Regions from separate parts of the Homo sapiens genome. Here region 1 is linked to region 2. The links are contacts of gene promoters, found by promoter capture Hi-C in human tissues and cell types (Jung and others, 2019). All regions are on one chromosome and are shown on one strand. Each heading gives the region's core, a stretch centred on a gene start or on the middle of the fragment in contact. The rest is flanking DNA. Distances are from core to core; before and after follow the strand shown. Region 1 has its middle 25 kb from the start of LINC01525. Region 2 holds the start of VTCN1 (V-set domain containing T cell activation inhibitor 1).

What was found. Contacts are between HindIII fragments. The study calls those that stand out against the background at their distance.
Region 1: a fragment that was not itself captured here is called in contact with the fragment with the promoter of VTCN1 in region 2 in 1 of the 25 tissues and cell types used here (bladder).

The regions. Positions count from the first base shown.
Region 1 is chr1:117,267,474-117,273,208 of GRCh38, forward strand. No RefSeq gene overlaps it. Among named protein-coding and RNA genes, the nearest start is that of LINC01525, 25 kb to the right of the region's middle. RefSeq lists a silencer at 1,174-1,468 and an enhancer at 1,430-1,948. The HindIII fragment of the contact is 4,907 bases long and covers 1-3,809 here.
Region 2 is chr1:117,209,531-117,216,244 of GRCh38, forward strand. It overlaps VTCN1 (V-set domain containing T cell activation inhibitor 1), which reads right to left and starts at 1,397. Exons shown (of 6, transcript NM_024626.4): 1 at 1,294-1,397. The coding sequence starts at 1,325. The HindIII fragment of the contact is 7,128 bases long and covers 1-2,185 here.

The sequences.
Region 1 (5,735 bases), core at 106-2,605, 58 kb after region 2:
TGGAAAAGAATGGTTTAAGTAGTTCCTATTATGGTTTCTAAATAAAGAGCCAAGCCCTGAACTGACCCCTGAACTAATGTGACAGAAAGCTCTGGCATTCAAAATGGCTGCAGTGCTTTGGGCCACACCTCTCTTCACTGGGCCGGGTCCATAACCTTCCAGCTGCTCTGAACCTGAGCCGGAGTTGTTTGCTAATTACCTATTCGTTTGCACCCATTGTCCACTGCCAGAAGATACACCTCCAAAGTCAGTTTCTCTTGTGAAAATTTGACTAACAAGCAGTGGCATATTAGAATTTCAGAGCTGACACCCACCTGACAACATCAACTCCAATCTCTCCTTCTTATAGGTACAGGGAAAGAAAGTGACTCAATGTGGCTCATGTAACCAGCCTGTGGCAGAACCTGGAGTCAATCCCAGGTCTATGGTCACTTCCAGCACTTCCCATGCCACCTCTTTATCCTGCCCTCTCCCTTGGAGATGAACTGACTTTGGAATTAACCATAAATTACCTGCCACAAACCCTCAGCAGCTTACACTTGAGTTCTCTGTTCCTAACCAACCCAAGCTATGGTATTGGCACAGAATTCTGTTTCTAGGGCTATGCCAGGTCAGGGGTACACACAGCACCCAAAAATCATGCTATAGAAGGCTATAATGCAAGTCTGGCTCTTCTGGAGCAGGTACATGAATGGAGCCAGCCTGCCATACTAGGTTCTATGGGAAACTGGGAGCACATGCCCCATGTAGCAGGGAAGCCAATACTTACCTCCAATAGCCAGGAGCCTTTGGGATTGAGGACCCAGTGTTGCCAGTCATAGCTATTTTTAAGAGATGTTAGAATTTTGTTTGTTTATATGTGAAATCACTTGCATTTTAAATATTGGCTCAGATTTTTAAATGTCTTTTAAAACACTGGCAGGCTAAACAAAATCCAGCCCATGGGCTGCCAATTCATCCTCTGCAGCATAGTAACAGTGAGGGATGAATGCTAAAGCCAGGCAGACCAGTGTGAATCCTGGCTCAGACCCTTGGTATGGCCATGGGTAAGGGAACCTCCCAGCCCTTCTACCTCCTAGCACTAATGGTCCAATCTCATAGCATTCTTGGGAAGACTGCAGTAATATAGGTGAAGCACTTAATGTGCTGCCAGTTACATCAGTACGCAAGAAAAGTTAGCACCGCCATTATAATAACCCTGAATCATAAAGACCTGAATGCCCTTAGTCAGAGCACCACCCAGAAAGCTCTCTAAGGCAAAGCCAGCACTCGTCTGCTAAAAGCCCTCTGTCCCTCTCAGCTAATTTCTGAACCAGTATCTTCCATGGCTTTGTGATCCCTGCTGGGAATTCAATGTTAAGGTAACATAGCAGCTTGTCATGTACTTCCCTGTGGCGTTTCTCTCTGGGGAGACAGAGACAAATGGAAAGAATGGACAAGGCGGGCTGCTCAAAGCACTCTGGATAGCCTTGGAGGATGCATGGACAGAGGAAAGCCCAGCTTCAGCCAGGAGGCCCCAGGGTGTTTGTTCCAGCAGATAAACATCCTTCCAGGAACAGTTTAGATCATCTGATATAAAAAAGTGGCCTCTGACCCAAGGCAGTTTTGTTCTGTTCTTTCTCAGCCAGTCAAGTGTAAGTGAAGAATGTGGCTGAGATTGGGATCTGGCCTGGAGTGCCTCACAGGGGGACACGACGGTTTAAATGCGGCTGAACCTTCTTTGGAATGCTGCCTGACTGGTGCTTCAGGTGTTACTTAAATTCTTAGCAAAGACAAAAGGAATCGAAAACAAGGTATACTAAACTGACCATTGTGCTATAGGGGCCTAAGGAAAGCTTCCCCTCCCCACTCTAAAATTTCACTGAGGGCCGGGGGCGGTGGCTCACCCCTGTAATCCCAGCACTGTAGGAGGCTGAGGAGGGCAGATCACCATGAATATTCAGTGTGAATATTCATGTGAGGAGTTTGAGACCAGCCTGGCCAACATAGTGAAACCCTATCTCTTCTAAAAATACAAAAATTAGCCGGGCATGGTGGCAGGCACCTGTAGTCCAGCTACTCTTGAGGCTGAGGCAGGAGAATCTCTTGAACCCGGGAGGCAGAAGTTGCAGTGAGCCGAGATTATGCCACTACACTCCAGCCTGGGTGACAGAGACTCTGCCTCAAAAAAAAAAAAAAAAAAAAATTTCATTGAAAAATCAACTCACAAAAGGCAGATTGATTGAAGAAAAGGCATACAAATTTATTAACATGCACACAGAATGAATTGCAGAGTGATTACCCCACCCCAACGGGATTCAGAAACTTATGTACCATCCTGGCAAAATAGGTTATGGGGTGATGGAGAAGAGAAATTCTGTTATGGGAATTGCTGGAGAGAATGAACGGTTCAAGGAACAGAGATGAACTTGTATGTTATCTTGTGAAAGGATCTGTTCAGGATCTCAGACAGATGAAGAAACTTCTTTTTTTTTCTTTTTAGTAGAGATGGGGTTTCACCATGTTGGCCAGGCTGGTCCTGAGCTCCTGGCCTCAAGTGATCCGCCCACCTCGACCTCCCAAACTGCTGGAATTACAGGCGTGAGAGACCATGTCTGGCCAGATAAATGAACTTCAACATCATCCTGTCTTTGGGACAGACTGGGGGGGCCAGATGGGGAAGATCAGAGAGACCTTGAGGCTTCTTCAGTTAAGTATGTCAATGAGCATATTTTGAGGTATCAGTTTGTGAGCCCCAACAATGTTTTGGTATAGGGGGTCTTACGGAAATGCAGGGAAATTTGATTTCACTTACCACAGGATCAGAGATGTATTTCTTTCATGGGTACCACAGCTGCTAAACCAAGCAGGTCTTCTCAGGACATAACCCACAGTGAGCATGTTAGGATGCAGGAACATGTGCAGGGCTCTGGCAAGAGGTACTGAAACATTGAAAACGGCCTTGATAGAGTATCTCTCTTTGAAAGAGGTTTAAAAAAGATACACTAAAAGTTATTTTGCTTAACACTGTCCATATAAACCAAAGAGGGCATTGAAATTACCAATGGCCCTGTATCTCTTGGGCAACAGATAAGGCCTATTTTCAAGATATATCTTTCCGTAGATCCTACTGTCCTGAATAATTTGTAGATTCCTGATGTATTGAATATTGAGAAATGCTTTTTAGTCTATGTCCAGTTATTTTCATGGATGTTGAAGAAAATAGACTAAGAGGAAGGGTTTAATATTTATGCAGCTACAAGTGTCCATTTTTCCCCCAGAAAATATACTACATAACACACACACTCTTTTCTTTTTTTTGGCATTATACAATTCTCTTCTCAGTGCTACAAAAGAACTAATTATTCACAGCAAGGAAAGCATGCTGTAATATAGTTGCAAGGGGCATTTTGTCTAGTTGTTAATTAGCCAAGTTTTTGGTGTCAGACAGAATTGAGTTTCAAATCTCACTCCACCACTTCCTAGATTTGAACTTGGGCAAATTATTTAGCCTTTCTAATCTTAGTTTCTCATAGCTATAAAATGAAGCTAATAACAGGATCTCTGCAAAGATTGTTATGAAAATTAAATGAGCTAATAGTTATATAGCATTTAGCAGGATTTGGCACATAATAGTGCTAAATCAATGGTAACTATTGTGAAACCAGAAAATCTGAGACAGATCTCGGTTAATTTAGAAAGTTTATTTTGCCAAGGTTGAGGATGCACTGGGACACAGCCTCAGGAAGTCCTGATGATATGTGCCCAAGGTGACCGGGGCACAGCTTGGTTTTATACATTTTAGGGAGACATGAGGTATCAGTCAATATATGTAAGAAGTACGTTCGTTCCATCCAGAAAGGTAGGGACAACTCAAAGCAAGGCCCCCCCACTGGGGGCTTCCAGATCACAGGTAGGTGAGAGACAGATGGTTGCATTCTTTTGAGTTTCTGGTAAGTCTTTCCGAAAGAGGCAATCAGAATATACACCTATCTCTGTGAGCAGAGGGATGACTTTGAATAGACTGGGAGGCAGATTTGCCCTGAGCAGTTCCCAGCTTGAAGGGGCCCAAGATATTTTCCTTTCACACTATTATTAAAATTTCCCTCCAATTTAACTCTTTCAATAAAACTCACATAACCAGTGTTTTCTTAAGGTGAGGTATACCTGTACTCAAGATGTGCTTAAATTCTGGTGAAGGAATGTTGAAAGAAATAAACAATTTCCTATGCCACTCAAAAGACCACAAGGATGGCTAAATAGTAGAAAGGCAAGTTTACTGGCAACATCAGTTTGCAAAACGGGAAGAGTCAGTCTTCAGTGTGTACCAACGGTATCCTCTCTTTGAAAAGGGAAAGGGCAGGTTGGGTTTTATGCCTCACAGGATCTGTATTACATAATAGTCATACATATTTAGCAGGTCTGGGGGGAAAGCCATACTTCTTTATGAGAGGAGTTGAGTGCATGCACAATGGGCAAACATATATATATAACACGCATCTCATGTTCATGTAGGGGCAGGGTTTTAGTATTAAAATGCGGTAGAGTTTGGCCCTTTACGACAAAAGGTAAACTATAGGACACAAAGACATAGAGATTGTGTGTAGTCTCTGTAAGCCAGCTGAAACTGGCTTGAGGTCTGCAGTTGCTAATCAGAAAAGAATGCTTTTCCTCTGTCCAATCAGAGTTGTAGTGATCTGCGTTGTAAATCAGAGTTAGGAATTTGCCTGATAGCACCTATTGTTAGGGAGTTTAACATGCTCAAGGTTTTTCTTGTAGTCAGAATTTAGGAAGTTGCTGTGCCAGCCAAGCTCTGGACCCTTGACTCACAGGTAACTTTTGTTTTCTTAACCTTGGGATCCATCTTAGTTGATAAAAGGGCATCTATTTTGGTCCCGCAGATCACATCTACTAGTCTGCATTGCTCATATTGCAGTTAGGATCCAGTCTCAATGAAGTCTGGCTACATAGTCTCAATGACAGCCTTGGAAACTCCTCCAGGGGTCATGAACATAGAATGGCCTTTCATAGTTTCCTGAGTTGGAGCAAGACAGCACAAGGGCAAATACAAATCAGAAATAAGAGTCTTAATTCTTATTTCAATTCCTGTAATTGAAAATAAGGGAAGAGTTCTCCCCATTTCCCTTTAATTTTCAGAATTTATCTATCCTTTGCAACTGTATATAAATCTTTATAGTAGCTAAGTAAGATTCTTGCCAGTCTCATAACTCAGAAATATTTCCTCAAGAACCTCAAAGCCATCTTTTTAAATGCAAACATCAGGAAAAAATTGCTTTTCTATCTTCCACTTCTATGGAAGAGTTAGAATCTGATGGGGCTCAGGACACAACACTCAAAAAAAGACTGTAGGAAACTAGAATATGTCACCCGAAAATATGCCTCTTTGGCATATTGATTATTTTGAGCTGGTTATTTTGAGAAACTGAAGACACAGGAGTAGCTCTGAAAAGATGGATGTTCATAAGAGAAACATATATCTGCAAAGGAAATCACCATTTGCAAGGGTCTCTTCATCTTTGCACCAGGAAAAGAAGACTAAATCACTAGAGACTCTTAAACAATGGAGAAGGTATCTACTTAAATCTGCAAAACAAACCTTACCTTTGTTTAAGATGCTTTCCCAGGTCATTTCATCTAAACCAGGCCCTCCTCCACATCTTTCCTTCCAGAGAAAGATGGCATCTAAGCCTGAAATTTAAATGCTTTCTTTGAGATATACTCCAGAGATTTACTGA
Region 2 (6,714 bases), core at 147-2,646:
GTGGACACGCTGCTCTAAGACACCTAGTGCAGGGCAGGGAAGGAGTCACTCACAAAATGCTAGCTCCTCTGACATAGGTGCTTCTTAGGGACATCCTCTCAGGGCAGAAGGGTCTAGAGGGAAGCCCCTGCCACCCACTGCTTCTCCTGGAGCACAGTGCTGTAGCCAGGCACAGGGGTGGGGGCAGAAGTGCCGCTGCAGCCACCCCCACCAGCCCTGCAGAGTCCTTCACCTCTGCTACCCGGCAGGTGATTTCAGATAAACGTGAGTCGAGTCAGGGGAGCTGATATTTTGTTTCAAGGAAAAGAACTTTCTAGGCTGCCTCTGGGAAGTAACATTACTCTCGTAGTCTCTTCACAAACTTTTCACTGTTGACCTGAGGATTCCTTTCCTCTCTCCTTCCCTCTCTTCTTTTCTTCCTTTTGTGGGAAAAAGAAACAAATTGGAGGACTGGTCCTTCAAACAACCTCTAGAACCAACAAGTATCAGCCTCCCTAAACACTGTCCTGAGTTGTGACTGACACTGAATCAATCATTTCAAGAAAACCCTGCACTTTCCATCTCTTTCCTTCCAGGAGGGTAAATGCTGTTCTGAGGGAAAAAGAGGCAACTAGAATGTAGCTCAGGGGAGAAGCAAAAGGTAGGGGAGGGAACTTGCTTCCTTCTTCCTCTCTGGGGAGTTCAGCAGCAGCAGCAGCAGCAGCAGCAGCAGCAAGTTCTCCTCTCCAAGGAGCTCCTAGGAAAACTAGGGACCCAACCTTTGAGCTGGGGGGGCCTGGGGAGGGGTGTTGGTGTGAATTGCTCAAGAGTAGCAAGAAATCACACCCACAGAGAATGAAAGCACATTCTCCTCCGTCCCCCTGGGGGCTGCATAAAGGGTCCTCCTGCATCCCCTCCACTGTCGCAGTCATGGATTCCCTGCCATCCCACCATGCAACCCACACCAGCCTGCTCAGTGTCCCCATGGTGCTCACAGCCTTGACATCTCAGGGGAATGCCCAGCTTGGCACGTACTCCCCTCAGTCCAAGCTGCCCAGCAAGCGCCAGCCCTCCATGGCAGGCCACCAACCAAAAACCTCCCTAACCCTGAACAGGTGCCTTGAGCAGCTGAGGTGGGATGTTAAGTCAAATCCAGTTAGGCTCTTGTCTGGCCAGGCTCCCGCTGGCCCAATGCTGGATCAGATAAAATTACAGGTGGGGTCCTATGGGACAGCCCAGCAGTGCTCAGCATCCCCAAAAGACCTCACTGCTGTTCCCTTCACCCATAAGGATAGAGAGAAGAGTATATACTACCTCCAGAAGAGGATCTGCCCCAGGGAAGCCATGGCTGGGGAAGGTTCCCAGCGTATCTGGGTACTGGCTGAGTGGAGCTGCCGCTGCCTTCCTTGGTGACTCACAACCAGCTCCCGTGTATTGGCCTTAAATAGTGTGTTGAGGCCGGGAGTGGTGCGTGCAGCTGTAGACGGCTCAGGTATGAGGAAACTGGCTGTGCAGAATTCCCTGCAGGCACAGTGGCTGCCTGCTCCGGCCAGCCAGCCAAGCCAGGGGCTCAGAGCTGCCTTTCCAAGTCTTGACTTTGGGAGGGTGACGAGGAAAAGCTTCCCTGGCCCTTGCTTCAGGGCCTGCATTCAGCAGGACTTTCCTCCTGACTGTGGAAGGGAGCTGTAGGGAGGGAGATTTAATCTCAAAATAAGAAAGGACTGGAATAGCTCAAAGTGTCAGGCTATGCTGGGAGCCTTGGGGCCAGGAGTCCCCATCTCTGCTGGTAGATGACGCTCAAACAGAGGCTGGGTCACCATTGGTCAGGTCTCTCGTGGAGGAGACTCATGCTGGGGGACCTCAGGAAGGCCATGAGCTGAAGTGACAAGACCACTGAGTTTGTCACTCAAGACTGAACTTGCCTAGGTCTCCTGAGATGCCCAGCTGGGTGTGCAATTCTCTTCCAGCTTCATTTCAGTGGGAGCAGGAGAGGGCCAGCACTTCCCACCTTGCAATTTTTTTGAGACTCCAAAAAGACACTGAATGTGCTCTGCTTCAACTGCCCCTCTCTCTGGAGATCCCAATACTCAGAAGCTATTGCTGTCAAAGGTGAGTGGGTTAGCAAAAATCTCTGACATTTCATCCAGCAGATTGCCAACTAGGCAAGATTCTCGTTAAAGCCTAAACGTTGCTCTCTCTCTCTCTTATTCTCTCTCTCTCTCCTTATTGTTTCCTCCAGCCCCCAGAAGTACCTTGGATGGGAAAGTTTCATGACTGGTTGCCTGGCTTACTGCTGCTGCTGACTGACTATGTTTGCAGTGAAGGTGCTCCAGGCCTTCAGCAGCATCCTCCTAGTGTTTGCGTATGGGCAGGTGGAGCAACCATTGAGTAAAGATGGAGCAGAGAGAACTGAGTGGTGAAAATAAGGCAGCAGGAGAGGGCAAGGTCACAGTGGAAAGACCTTTAGAGTCAAACAGCTAGGTTCAATTCCTGGGTTCCTAATTAATCATGTGGCTTTGAGAACATCACTTTACTTCAATGTGTGTCTCACTGGGTTGCAGTGAGGGATAAATGAGAGGCGGGTCTATGTGCTTTCCCTTCCCCAGAATAAGTAAAGGGTGATGCCCTGGAATCTATGCAGTGCCAGTGCTGAATGGTCACTTCCCGGGTCTGGGGAAGCTGAGGGCAGTGGGAGCAGTGGTTTCTGTAATTCCAACCAAAGGCACAGGGATTCTGCCCTACCCCTCAATGAGCCTTAAGAAGAGCAGCTTCAGCTGGGCACAGTGGCTCAAGCTTATAATCCCAATATTTTGGGAGGCCAAGGTAGGAGGAATTTTTTTTTTTTGAGACTGAGTCTCGCTCTGTTGTCCAGGCTGGAGTGCAATGGTACAATCTTGGCTCTGTAACTGTAACCTCTGCCTCCTGGGTTCAAGCGATTCTCCTGCCTCAGCATCCCAAGTAGATGGGATTATAGGTGCACCACCGCACTCAGCTAATTTTTGTATTTTTAGTAGAGACGGGGTTTCTCCATATTGGCCAAGCTGGTCTCGAACTCCCAACCTCAAGTGATCCACCCACCTCGACTTCCCCAAGTACTGGAATTACAGGCATGAGCCACTGCGCCTGGCTGGTAGGAGGAATTCTTGAGCCTAGCAGTTCGAAACTAGCCTGAGCAGCATACTGAGACTTCGTCTCTACAAAATTTAAAAAAAAAAAAAAAGAATCCATCTAGTAACAGGAAAACAAACAAAAAATTAGCTGGGCATATAGTCCCAGCTGCTCAGGAGGCTGGGGTGGGAGGATCACTTGAGTGGGGCTTGAAGCTGCAGTGAGCCATGATCGTGCCAGTATACTCCACGATGGGCAACAAAGCAAGATGCTGTCTTAAAAAAAAAACAAAAAAGCAGCCCCACCTCAAACACCCTGGGGCAGAGCCATGGAGTTTCTCTCTTCTAGCCATGCATCATCACTAAAGGGACAGCTAAGGATGACCCTGGAGGGAAAATCAAGACAACCCAGCAGAGACACCTCCGAGTGAGAGGGAAAATGTAGCTGAAGTGGCCCACCTGTTAGAGGGCAGGCATTACCTGGCAGGGATGTGGAGCTGAAAAGCATTCTGCTGCCTCTGGAGAAGCAAATGGACAGTACTCTGGTTCTGACTCCAAAACTTGAAGAATATCACACACAAAATAATGAGGGAAATCATTACAAAGCAACAGCCCAAAAGTGTGTGTGTGCGCATGTGCACGCGCGTGCACGTGTAAAGAGAGAGTCTTGGAAACATTGAACTCTCCAGCATTTGAAAGCCTCTCTTGGCTCCCCTGACACTGTTCTCTGAGACTCTCACTAATGCCCCTCACTGTCTTGTGCCCAGGCCCTTTTCCTTCGCCTCTCCCATAAGTGATAGGGGTCCCTGTGGTCCTGTCCTCTGCCTTTTCTTCTCATAGCACACATGTGCCCTGGGCAACCTTGACCACTGCTCTGCTTCGACTGCTCTGGAGATCACAATATCTGCATCCTCAGCTCCCTTCCCTTGACCAAGCCCCAACCCCACATACCCAGCTGCTTAGTGGACATCTCCAATCGGCTGTCTAGAAGGCACCATCTCCCATCTCTAACCCGGCTGCTCCCCCTAGGTCACATCTTTTGGAACACAACAGCATCCCACACTAGGCTGCCACAGTCAGAAACCTCAAAGTCACCCTTTATTCCGCCTGCCTGGCTCCCTACATCCCTGATTCCTCCTCCTTGGGTTAGTCTACTAAGGCTGCCATAAAAAAGTACCATAGACTGGTGGTTGAAACAATGGAAATGTATTTTCTCACAATTCTGGAGGCTGCAAGGCTGAGATCAAGGTGTCAGCGGAGTTAGTTTCTCCTGAGGCCTCTCTCCTTGGCTTGTAGATGGTTTCTTCTCCCTGTGTCTTCACGTGGCCTTCCCTCTGTGTGTGTTTGTCCTGATCTCTTCTTCTTTTTTTTTGAGACGGAGTTTCACTCTTGCCGCCCAGGCTGGAGTGCAATGGCGCGATCTCGGCTCACTGCAACCTCCACCTCCCAGGTTCAAGCAATTCTCCTGCCTCAGCCTCCCAAGTAGCTGGGATTACAGGTGCCCACTAACATGCCCAGCTAATTTTTTGTATTTTTAGTAGAGATAGGGTTTCACCACGTTGGCCAGGCTGGTCTCGAACTCCTGACCTCAGGTGATCCACCCGCCTCGGCCCCCCAAAGTGCTGGGATTATAGTGCCAGCCCTAATCTCCTCTTCTTATAAGAACACCAGTCATATTGGATTAGGGCCCATCCTGATGACCTCATTTTAACTTAATTACTTCTTTGGAGGCCTTATCACCAAATACAGGGGGTTAGGACTTTATGAATTTTGAGGAGAGACATAATTCAGCCCGTAAAACTCCTCTATGCCTCCTAAGTCCATCCCTTCTCTCTATCCCCAATACTATTGCCCAGATTTCCTCCCTCATCATTTCCAATTTGAATTAAACTATTAAATAGTGTCCTTTTCCTAGTCTGCCTCTACTTGTGCTGATCCACCCACTTCCACTAGAATGATCTTTCTAAAATGCAAATCTGATGAGGCACTTGCCTGCTTGAAATGACCAATGCCTCTCCAGAGCCTGTGGTCTGGCCTCTGCCTACCTCTCCAGATTTTTCCCTCATGTCTCCTTTTGGTCCTCTGTGGACCAGCCGTACTGCACTGCTTCAGGTTGCTCTAAAATGCCAGCGTGCTCTCCCAAGCCATCCTGCCTTTACACAAGTTGCTCTTTCTACCTGGAATCCATCCCTGCCTTTTTCTTGTTTTATATAAAATTTATGGGAAACTTTCCCAACAACTACCATCTGGCAGGTGCCATGCTTCGGGATCCCATGTGAACCTGGTGCTACTTACTATGCTCCTAAATTGGGACCATTGAATTGTCTGTCTCCTTCACTAGACACACCTTAGAAATAGAAAGGTGTCTTATTCATTTTTGTATTTCACACCAGCATAAGGCATGCACAGAGTAAGCAATCATTAGATGTTTGTTGGATAAATGTACATTTTTCTTTCACAGCACACAGTAATGGTACTATTTTCCATTTATGCATCTATCTCATTGCTAGTCTGTGAGCTCTTGGAGGGTAAAAACTAGGCCTCGTTCATCTTTTTTTGTTATCAGGTCCTAGCACCGTGCCAGGCATAAAAAGCACTCAGTAACATTTGATGGATGAGTAAGCAGGGATCAACTTGGGGTGTGATCAGTCATTTTCCAGAGGAGATGTCTTCTGAGCTGGATTGACACTATTAGAGGCAGCAGAGAACAAGTTGCATTTGAGATAGAGGAACAATTTATGATTAGGACAAAGGTAAAGCAGACGTAGGAGATAAGCACAAAATCTATTCTCTCCTTGTTGATCTTGGGGAAAGAGAGAGACAGAGATTACTTAATGTATCTGGAACCAAAATGTCTTATGAATTTTTTTTTTTTTTTTTTTTTTTTTGAGACGGAGTCTCACTCTGTCGCCCAGGCTGGAGTGCAGTGGCGGGATCTCGGCTCACTGCAAGCTCCGCCTCCCGGGTTCACGCCATTCTCCTGCCTCAGCCTCCCAAGTAGCTGGGACTACAGGCGCCCGCCACTACGCCCGGCTAATTTTTTTGTATTTTTAGTAGAGACGGGGTTTCACCGTTTTAGCCGGGATGGTCTCGATCTCCTGACCTCGTGATCCGCCCGCCTCGGCCTCCCAAACTGCTGGGATTACAGGCGTGAGCCACCACGCCCGGCCTATGAATTTTTTTAAAAAATTATTTAAATAGCCCAGTCACCTGGAGCTCTGTTTTCTCATTGTGTAGCTGCATATTTTCCTGCGTATAAGGCTTACATTTCCTTGGAATCACAGCACATTCTGGCTCTGATAGGAAGAGCACCCGCCCATGAGTGAATGTGGACCTAGCCGGTTGTTCCAAGTGCTGGCACAGAAGCAGGCTCTGTGCTGTGCTTGCGACTGGACCAGGCATGTTGCAAGCCACTCCCCTGGTGGTCTCTGGCATCCAGACAAGGGGAATGCAGTGGCACCTAGGCAGGGGTGTCCATGACCCCAAAGCCCCAGAGGGGGTGTTACAGCATGCTAATTAGCTCTTATAGTCCCGGCTTCTGCTGCCTAGTGGACAGTGGCATGTTAACAGCTCTGTCATTTCCTTGCCCCACTCTCGCCAGCAGCTCTGGGGCAAACTTGGCACCACC